Linked DNA regions of Homo sapiens: all the other regions are linked to region 1. Evidence: promoter capture Hi-C in human tissues and cell types (Jung and others, 2019). All regions are on one chromosome and are shown on one strand. Each heading gives the region's core, a stretch centred on a gene start or on the middle of the fragment in contact. The rest is flanking DNA. Distances are from core to core; before and after follow the strand shown. Region 1 holds the start of TMEM45B (transmembrane protein 45B). Region 2 overlaps NTM (neurotrimin). Region 3 has its middle 51 kb from the start of LINC02725.

Evidence for each region. The method cuts DNA at HindIII sites, captures the fragments that hold promoters and counts their contacts. A contact is called where the count stands out against the background at its distance.
Region 2: a contact is called between a fragment that was not itself captured here and the fragment with the promoter of TMEM45B in region 1, in 1 of the 25 tissues and cell types used here (aorta).
Region 3: a fragment that was not itself captured here is called in contact with the fragment with the promoter of TMEM45B in region 1 in 1 of the 25 tissues and cell types used here (stomach).

What each region holds. Positions count from the first base shown.
Region 1 is chr11:129,814,235-129,817,491 of GRCh38, forward strand. It overlaps TMEM45B (transmembrane protein 45B), which reads left to right and starts at 1,614. Exons shown (of 6, transcript NM_138788.5): 1 at 1,614-1,664. It overlaps LOC124902793 (a long non-coding RNA gene), which reads right to left and starts at 453. Exons shown (of 2, transcript XR_007062952.1): 1 at 1-453. The HindIII fragment of the contact is 7,942 bases long and covers 1-3,131 here.
Region 2 is chr11:131,622,691-131,625,947 of GRCh38, forward strand. The region is part of intron 1 of NTM (neurotrimin); the gene reads left to right. Among named protein-coding and RNA genes, the nearest start is that of NTM-AS1, 39 kb to the right of the region's middle. The HindIII fragment of the contact is 6,012 bases long and covers 1-3,257 here.
Region 3 is chr11:128,043,171-128,046,427 of GRCh38, forward strand. No RefSeq gene overlaps it. Among named protein-coding and RNA genes, the nearest start is that of LINC02725, 51 kb to the right of the region's middle. The HindIII fragment of the contact is 4,935 bases long and covers 1-3,257 here.

The DNA of each region.
Region 1 (3,257 bases), core at 364-2,863:
GACTTGATGAGTGAGGCCGCGGACCTTCGCAGGGAGTGTTACAGCTCTTAAAGGTGGCGCATCCGCGTTGTTCCTTCCTCCCAGCGGGTTCGTAGTTTCGCCGACCTCAGGAGTGAAGCCACAGACCTTCGCAGGGAGTGTTACACCTCTTAAAAGTGGTGCGTCTGGAGTTGTTTGCTCCTCCCTGTGGGTTCGTGGTGTCGCTGACTTCAGGAGTGAAGCCACAGACCTTCACAGTGAGTGTTATGGCTCTTAAAGGTGGCGGCTCCAGAGTTGTTTCTTGTGGTGGCTTCCTGGTCTCGCTGGTTTACAGGAGTGAACCTGCAGACCTTCACTGTGAGTGTTAAAGCTCATAAAGGTAGTGTGGACCTAAAAGGTGAGCAACAGCAAAATTTATTGCAAAGAGCGAAACAACAAAACCCCAACACCATCGAAGGGGACCCAAACGCAGCTGCCGCTGGCTCGGATGGCCAGCTTTTATTCCCTCATTGGCCCCGCCCACATCCTCCTGATTGGTCCTGCCCACATCCTCCTGATTGGTCCATTTTACAGAGCGCTGATTGGTCCATTTTACAGAGTGCTGATTGGTCCATTTTACAGAGTGCTGATTGGTCCGTTTTTACAGAGTGCTGATTGATGTGTTTACAAACCTTTAGCTAGACATAGAGCATTGATTGGTGCATTTACAATCCTTTGGCTAGAGAGAAAAGTTCTCCAAGTCCCCACCAATTAGCTGGACACAGAGCACTGATTGGTGCATTTTTACAGAGTGCTGATTGGTGTGTTTACAAACCTTTAGCTAGACACAGAGTGCAGATTGATGCTTTTACAATCCTTTAGCTAGACAGAAAAGTTCTCCAAGTCCCCATCCGACCCAGAAGCCCAGCGGGTTTCACCTCTCAGTAGCTTACAGAAGAGGACCCTGCTGCCACAGCACAATACCACAAAGAAAGTCATGCTCTCCTCAGCAGGTAGCCCCCTTCTCCGGGACAGGAACTTTGTTTCCTTCTTAGCTCTATCGCCAGCACCTAGAACAGTGCCCACCTGTCAGATCTGTTATCAGATGGGAACATGGCAGATTTGTTGAATGAATGAAGGAATGAATGAACTATGTGACACTCAAACTTAGCCACCAAACTTAAACTAAAAAAACTGGGTTGTGGTCCCTGATGGACCGTTGGCACCTTCTTCCTTTGCTGGACGGTGATCCGTGGCTGTTTCTGCGGTGTGTTCGCAGTGGTTGCCTGGCTTGGTAACAAACACTCTTCGGAGCCACAGCCTGTTCTCAGGGTCCTCGCCGCCTCCCAGGCCCTGCGATCTCTTTGCATCTCAGGAGGTCCAGGTTGGTTGCAGTCCTCTTGGGTGACTCAGGAACCAGCCTCTCCTGAAGCACACAGCTTAGGGAGTTCCTGAGGCCAGAGACATCTCCACGGGAAAGTCAAAGGCCTGGAGGAAGTGCGGACCTGACGACAGATGCCCCGCACGCTGGCCGGGACCGGGAAGGGCGGTCAAGGGTGGAAAGGGGCTGGCGGCTGCCAGGCCTGGCGGAGTGGAGCGGGGCGGGGCGCAGCGGGGCGGGGCGGGCCTGGAGCTGCACCTGCTTCTGGGCGGACGCACTTGGCGCGCGGCGCGGGCTGCAGACGGCTGCGAGGCGCTGGGCACAGGTCAGACGTCCGTACCCGCAGGGGGCTCGAACCTGGAGGAGGGCTCGAAGGGAGAGGGGGCCCCGCCAAGGAGCGGGGCTGTGATGGAGAGGAGGTTCCGACTCGCAGGGGACCTGCGGGGGAGGGGACGCGGACAGGGAGGGGCTCTGGGACAGGGGTGAAGGCTGCGCTAGGGGAGGACGGGAGGGGATGGAGGGCCCTGGTGTCGCGGAAGCCCAGCTGGGGCCCCCTCCGGGCTGCGGAACCGGTGCGCACACTACTCCCACCGCCCCCGAGTGCCTCTGTCCGGCTGGCCGCGGCCCTGGAACGAATATTGCTCAGTCCCCCGCGAGTCAGGTCTGCCGCGTTGCCCGGTGAGGGGAAGGTGTGAAGCCCCGGGCCTCCGTCTGCCCGGTGAGTCCGGGGACGCGCGCCCCCGGGGATGCCATCTGGCTCCTGGGCTGTGACCAGTCACAGCTCACATAGCTCTGGGCACTGGTACCGACTGCCTTTCCTTGTTAGCTGCGATACACAAATACACGAGCCAGATCCTTTCCTGAGGCCAGGAAGCCTGGAATCTAATAACACCGGGCGGTGGATAAAGTCCCCCGAGCCAGTGCTTAGCTTCCGTTAATGGAGCCATGGATGGAAGCGGATGTCAGGCGCAGTGGGGGAGAAATTTGCGGGGGTGGCCCTGTCTAGGGCCAGAGAAACAACCTCTGAAGCTTTGATCCAGCCCTAGAGGGAAGAAAGATGTGAGTTTCAGCCAGGGAAACGTAGCACTTTAAGAAATAGAAACCCTTTCAAAATTTGAGGGCAGGTAGCTCTCCTAAAAGTTGCAGAAATGGCCACTTCTTTTTTTTTTTTTTTTTTTTTTTGAGACGGAGTCTCGCTCTGTCGCCCAGGCTGGAGTGCAGTGGCGCAATCTCGGATCACTGCAAGCTCCACCTCCCGGGTTCACACCATTCTCCTGCCTCAGCCTCCCGAGTAGCTAGGACTACTGGCGCCCGCCACCACGCCCGGCTAATTTTTTGTATTTTTTTTTTTTTTGGTAGAGACGGGGTTTCACCGTGTTAGCCAGGATGGTCTCGATCTCCTGACCTCATGATCCACCCGCCTCAGCCTCCCAAAGTGCTGGGATTACAGGCGTGAACCACCGCGCCCAGCTAGAAATGGCCACTTCTTTCACGTTCTCTTCGACCGCTTTCTGCGGTGTCTGCCCTTTTCCTCCTCCTGCACCTTTTTGTCTCCTAGGGTCGCATAGCCTTCCAAACAGGCCTGCCTACAGCATTTTACCTGCAATTTTACACTCATTTTAATAGAAAGGATGGCTTATTGTTCATGAGAGACGTGTACTGTTTTTAACCAGATGTGTAATATCTTCAGTATAACCTGGATGTTGTGCAGTGGGAAGTTATGGAAAGAATCAGGACACGTGGTTAGGTAGGGGCCCAGGGGCGTCAGACTTAGCTCTTTGTGACAGTGAGCTTCTTGGTTTAATAAGGATATTGGCTCCCTCTGTTCCTGGGGTTTCTGGGAAAAGATATGGAACTGATATGAAGGTTTTATTGAATATGGCCCACTGATTTTACAAGTGGAGGTGACTGAGATAAG
Region 2 (3,257 bases), core at 278-2,777, 1.8 Mb after region 1:
AGGCCACTGTTTTCGGTCATGTTCTGTTGCAGGCAGGATGAGACAGTAGAGATGTGTCCTGATGTTCCCCTCCCTGACAAGAGCACCCCAGCAACTCTCCTGTTGGCCCTTGAGCTAACAAGCTGAGCAATCGCACCGACCCTCCAGGAGTGCTCCTTGGGTGGCATTCATCTGCCAACATCATGATTTTGCATTTGTCACTAACACACTGGTTGCCTTCCGTCCAGGTGCTCTCATTGGTACACTAGACTTCAAATTGGCGTTCTCCTGAATAAAACAGAAAAAGAGAAAGAGGAAGAGGAAGGGAAATAGCTCTGAAGAAACAACTTATCTCAAACGATCTCAGAAACTCACCTGCTTAGGAGACCCACAGCAATCATGGGGTGCCCATAGACACAGGGGCTTCTCTATACCGGAGTTTTACTTTATAAGCCCACCATGCAGTGGAGAGACTACCTTAAGTGGCAGTGTGGGTGTGAAGTTTGCAATCAGACTATCAAGGCTGACTTTTGATTCTCTTGTGTGATCGCTGGGTGACCTTGAGAAAGTCACTTTCCTTCTCTGGGCCTGAGCCCCTTCCTTGGCAGCATGGATGGACATCCTACCTCCCAGGACTGTTTTGAGAATCCAGTGGAAATATATGTGAGAAAGATTTGCACCCAGTAAAAATCGTATACAAATATGAGATATCATTAGAATGAGTTCCTTTTGATTATTCCATAACTAAAGCCCTTGGCTCAAGTCCGAGACAGATGCCATGCTGTCCACCGAATTCCATTTTATACCAAATCATGTTAGAGAGTCCAAAGTATTTCCATTTTAAAATCCCATCTTCGGCTGCTTGCATGTTTAAATGAAAATTCATTTGGATAGCAGCATGCTAGGAGCAAGACAGCAGTAACTAAATAAACAACTAATCAGCGATGGGTTAGGCCTCTCTATAGGGACGCGGATGGAGGACACTTGCAGTGCGCCTGCCTGGAGTGACCCCCGCAGATGGTTTTGGGCTCCAGTGTGTCCCCCTCTGGGCCAGGCCCACTCTCCCTCCCTTGGGAGGAAGCACACAGCCCAATTTAAGCACCCAATGTGTAGGCTGGGAATGGAAAGGAGATAATGGTGTGTGTTTGCTTTGTTAACTTATCCATTTTGTATCCTGCTTTTCTTCCACTGTTAGCCAAGGAAAAACCTCGGGGCTGCCGTAGCTGGGCAGGAGGAAATGAAGGGCCTACCCTGGCCGCTCCGACCTTGAGTCTCCTCATCCACTCTCACCCACAAAGGCAGTTGCTCTGACCGAGGTCACTAAAGGCTCTTAATTCTTTCTGTGAAAGACAGTGATGGAGCCATGTCAGGGGGTTTTTGCCCCAGTCATTTCCTGGGGCACCTTGTACTCTGTGCAGAGGCTGTGTCCTCACATTTGTGATTGAAGGCACAGGCAGACAATAGGGTTCAGATTCCATTTTCTTGGCTCATAAGGGCGATTCTCTGGCAGGTCCCTTAGTGCGGTCCGGCCTGGGTATCCTGTCCCTCTGCGTCCTGCCCTTATTCAAGGACCAGCGTTTCCAGCACATCATTCAGTGGCAACATGGCATCGTGTCTCTGCATTTAGAGGGCCACTGATCAGCACTGTGATCTCAGGCAGCTGATCTCAGATCATGGCAGCACAGTGGTCTCATTAGCGTCCTCATCTGTAGAACGGGCACAGCACTATCTACTGCACAGAGCAGTCCTAAATATTAATTGTGGTCCTGCAGGTACAGAGCTAAGCAAGTGTCTGTGGCCTCATAAGCCAGGGACATCACAGGAGGTCTTCCCAGTGGCTCCCACCCAGAGCTCATCCTGCTACAAGTTCTGAGCCATTGGAGAGCTCCTTCTATTATTTGCTGATTCATTAGGGCCTGCCTTTGACAGTAGGACTCATGGCCACTCATAGTGTTGTATTACTCATAGCACTTAACATTTTACTAAGCATAGGATGGACATTTAACAAATGATTGTTTTGTGCTTTGTGAAGTCAGATGTGCCCATCCACGCTAATCACGGAGGAATCCACAGCCTGTGCACAGGGCGAGTCCCTCTATCTTTGGTTCATGCTTCAGTTTGCTGGAGCCATTCATTCATTCTTTCCTGGAGTATGTCTCACATGCCTACCGCATGCCAGGAATCCAGGAGGTGGTGATGATCAGGCAGCCAGGATTTCTGTCTCCACAGAGCATACAGTTTAGTTGGCTGCATTCATATACCTAAAGCATTTTTGCTCCCTCAAAAAAGAAATTATCAATGATTCCAAGTACTTAAAAATCACCATAACCTGAAAAGCTTGCTGGGTTGTAAGTAACAACCTCACCTTATTCTGTTTATCTGTCACTGAGCTGGAAACAGTTACAAAGTAGGATGTGCTACACTGCCTATTGAGTTTATTTTGTCTTTTATACAGAAATCAACCTTGTAGAGGAAACCACATCATTTAAAAAAATACTCAAGCTCTATTTTAAGGGTGTAAAGTGATCACATTTTCTGGAGATGAATGTGTCCCTTTGAAAGCACCTGACTACATCAGAGGCCGAAATGCAGATGTGGGGGGCCACCCTGATAAGGTCCCCCCATGATGGTCTTTATGGACCCCTCTGAGCAAGGGGAGACTCTCTTGTTCCATTTCTGAAAAGTGGCAGAGGAAGGAACAGGTGCCTTCGGGATTCAGAGTTAATCAAATCCACAAAAGGCAATCCAGTCGCTTCTTGGGATTAATAGAAATTAGTCCACTGGAGACTTCTTAGAGAAAGAAAAGCAGAGAGAGAGACAAAGACAGAGAGACAGACAGACACAGAGAGAGACTGAAAAGATGAAGGAGGGAGGATAGAAGAAAGGCTTCATTTTTTTTTTTCAGATAACGTTCCCCAATAACATACATATAGCCTGGTGCACAGAATGTCAGCTCAATGAATTGTCACAAACTAAACACACTCAAATAACCAGCATGCCAATAAAGACACAGAATGAAGCATGCAGGAATCACCAGGCCCTGTTGTGCTCACAGCTGCCCTCTTCCACAGGTTAACCTCCAACTTGATGCCAGCCTCCCTAGATAAGTGTGCCTGCTTTACAACTCACATGAGTGAGATCACAGAGATTCTTCTCCTCTGTGGCTGGCTTCCTCTGTTCCACATGTGTTTGTGAGATCCAAGCATGTTGTGGCCTATATTTGTGGTTGTCACTCTCATTGCTGTGTAGTGTTCCATTGTGTGAATATGCTACACATT
Region 3 (3,257 bases), core at 322-2,821, 1.8 Mb before region 1:
TATATATGCCTAGCAAAAGGAAGGAATGTCAATGAAACCACAAATAGGAAGATCAAATTGGATCTCACCCATCTAAGAGAATGGATACACACACACACATACACACACACAGACATATATATATATGTATATATTTCATGTGTCTCTATGTGTGTGTATATCAATCTATCTAAGTTTTACACATTATATACTTATAACCTACAATTGGAGATGAGGATTAGCTTTTCTACACCCACTACCATCCCAGATTCACCTACTCCCAGCTTCCTAACATAGTTATATCACAGCTTTTAGTAAAATCGATAGTTCACATTCTTATGAGTATCCAAATATTGTTCACTATTCTACTTCCATCTTTCCTATAAGCCCTCTGATGCTGTTGTTGCTCTTCTTTTTGGAGTTATTTCCTCAATTTTTCATTTACCTAGTTTTCCATAAAGTAACTGATATTTTTTCAAGAATTCTAATCTCTGCCATAGGCCCAAAAGCATTATTTTTCATATACTCAGATTTGCCCTCTGTTCTAATTTGTACTATTTTCTGTGAAGGTCTTCTTTCCAGGTATAAACCTGAATATTTCTTTTGATGCTCACTTACATTAGTTATTCTTTTTGCTAGATGTAAAATTTTCCTCTTGATCTCTTTTTTCTTTAATTTTTTGTTCAAAAACATATTATAATATCATCCTGAAATAAGGTGGTAATAAGTTAGTTTTTCAGCTCCAATATATCAGAAATATTTTATCATCACATCTGATAGTGTATCTGGGTATAAAATTTGATGCTAAGAGTCTTTTCAGTCAGAATTTTAAAACTGAAGCTCCCTTGCCTTCTAACTGCCAATCTTATTGCTTAAAATACTGTTGCTGAACTAATTCCCAAGACTTTGAGAGGTAATAATCTGGAGTGGTTAAGAATGAAACCAGCTGGGTTCATATCCCTATTTAACCTACCGATTTAGCCAAGTGACATTTGACAAGTTATGTAAACTCCCTGTGTATCTCTTCCCTTCTCTGTAAAATAGGGTGTGATAAAATTCTATTCAGAATTAGTCTTTGTCTTGGTTATTATTATCTTTTGATGATTTTAATTTAGAAGGAGGAGAAAATGTTTTGGGTAAAATTCACCTTTGTGGGACCTAATTTTTTTATGGATGAACATAAGTTTCAGCTAATGATCCATAACAGAGATTTGCAGTAAAACACAGCATGTAATACTAAGCACATCCTACACACACAAATACAAACCCACTAAGTTATGGTATGTCAATTTTTGGAAAAATAACATGTATTATGATACTATTCAATTTGCAGTCTGTAAGTTGTAATTTTATTGTGAATAGTAAAAAAAAAAAATAGTTCACCAATAGTCTTTCTCTCTGAGGAGATGCTTTCCAACTTTAAGCTCCACAGTCACACAAAGTTAGAGGGAGATTATAAGTGACGCATATTGCAGCTGAAGATGGTTAGAACTCTTAGAAACAGAAGTGGTGGAGAGGAATATTCTCCTGGGGGAAAATATTCCTTTCTTGAGAAAATAATAAATAAATATGGTGTAAACAGATAAACTTAAATAGAGAAACAAAATTAAACTTTCTATTTTGTTCAATGATAGGTTTTCTCACTCTTTAAAAGGTGAAAGTGGACTACAAACCTGCAGAGGAGATTCACTATGCCCTTCTTTATCCCAATTTGACCACATATCTCCCTGACTTTTGATTTTACATTAATAGGCTCTGGAAGATTTAAACAAGCTTGGGAAAGTCTGCATTTATATTTCATTCCCAACCAGTTAGTTATCAGATCTAGCTATATGGATCTGCACTTACATTTTGGAGATTCCACATAGAAAGGAGAAAATCCATGTAGACATGGAGAATGGACACATTAATTAATTGAAAAGGGGAACATGAGGAAGGGCAATGATACAAATTTCATTAGTTCAGGTTCACTAAGAAGCAGATTCCAAATTGAGATTAGATGTGTGAGACATTTATTGACGGAGGGATCAGGAGAAGGTAGGGAGAGCCTTCAGAGGCTAACACCTATGAAAAGTCCTACCTCCCACAGGACTGAGCCTGCCCTAGTACCCAATGCAGTCAGTCATTGGTTGAGAGTAGCAGGAAGAAACACAGTAGGAGGTCCATATGGGGTGGTGAGTAAATTAGGCTCTCCACAGCAGGAAATCTGAACTTCACAACCTCTTTGCCAACCACACAAGCCAAAATCTAGTCAAACAATTTTAAGACACAAATTTACAAATTTGTTAATTGAGTAATGACCCATCGTTTGCCATTATCCAAGCATAATAATTTATTGTTTTAAAGTGAATTTCCCTCTGTTTATTATGATAATTCGTGCTAGGAATGTGCTACACACCACAGATGTGAAGTTGAGTTTTGGAAATATCCTGATTTGGAGATGGAAAATGTGGGCCGTTTGTTCCACATGGTTGTGTAACTTACTTAACCTCTTCTTCTCAGCTTCCCTGTCTGCAAATTGCTGCAGCTATTTTATTAGAGCATTTTTCTAAAGGCTAAAATAGTCTATGTAAAAATTATTGGGAAGTACTATGAAAATTACTGTTAGCAGGGACTGAGACTGAGGCAATGTTTTCATGTAATGTAAGTTCTTAGGAAAGCAGAGACTCTTATTTCATTTAATCCATGGTTATCTTTTAGAACAGAAATAAATTAGAGCCTGGCTAATAAAATTTCTATTAGAAATTTCATTTTCCAAACATTAAATAGCTTTTTAGCCTAAATTTTTTATCATAAACTCAAAAGCTAGTTCATGTCTTTCCTGTGTATTTTTTGTCATGATAGAGCAGCTGCCTATTAAAAGTTATCATTATGCATTTTTCATTCCATATATCTCATTCTTACATTTTTGTATGTATATGCTTGTTATGATTTATTTTACTAAAGACAAATAATAATATTCTATAACATGTATTGATGACTTATTATGTAGCAGAAACTATGTTAACAGGGAATCTAACTACATTTGTTGTCTTCTATATCCTAAGACCATAATGACGATCTCTGAAACAGTACTAATTTTCCAATTACTCTTATCTTTAACTGGAAAAACACAATGAAAATTGCAGAACTCCTTTGGGGAGAGTTATGTTGTGCAATAAATAAAGTTATTGTAGTTTCATAAATCTTGGACACCACTAAGCCAGAGGGAAAAGTGTTGTATTTGGAAGTTCCTTTTATTAGTACTTGATGCTATATACACTGGGTGCCGTACAAGA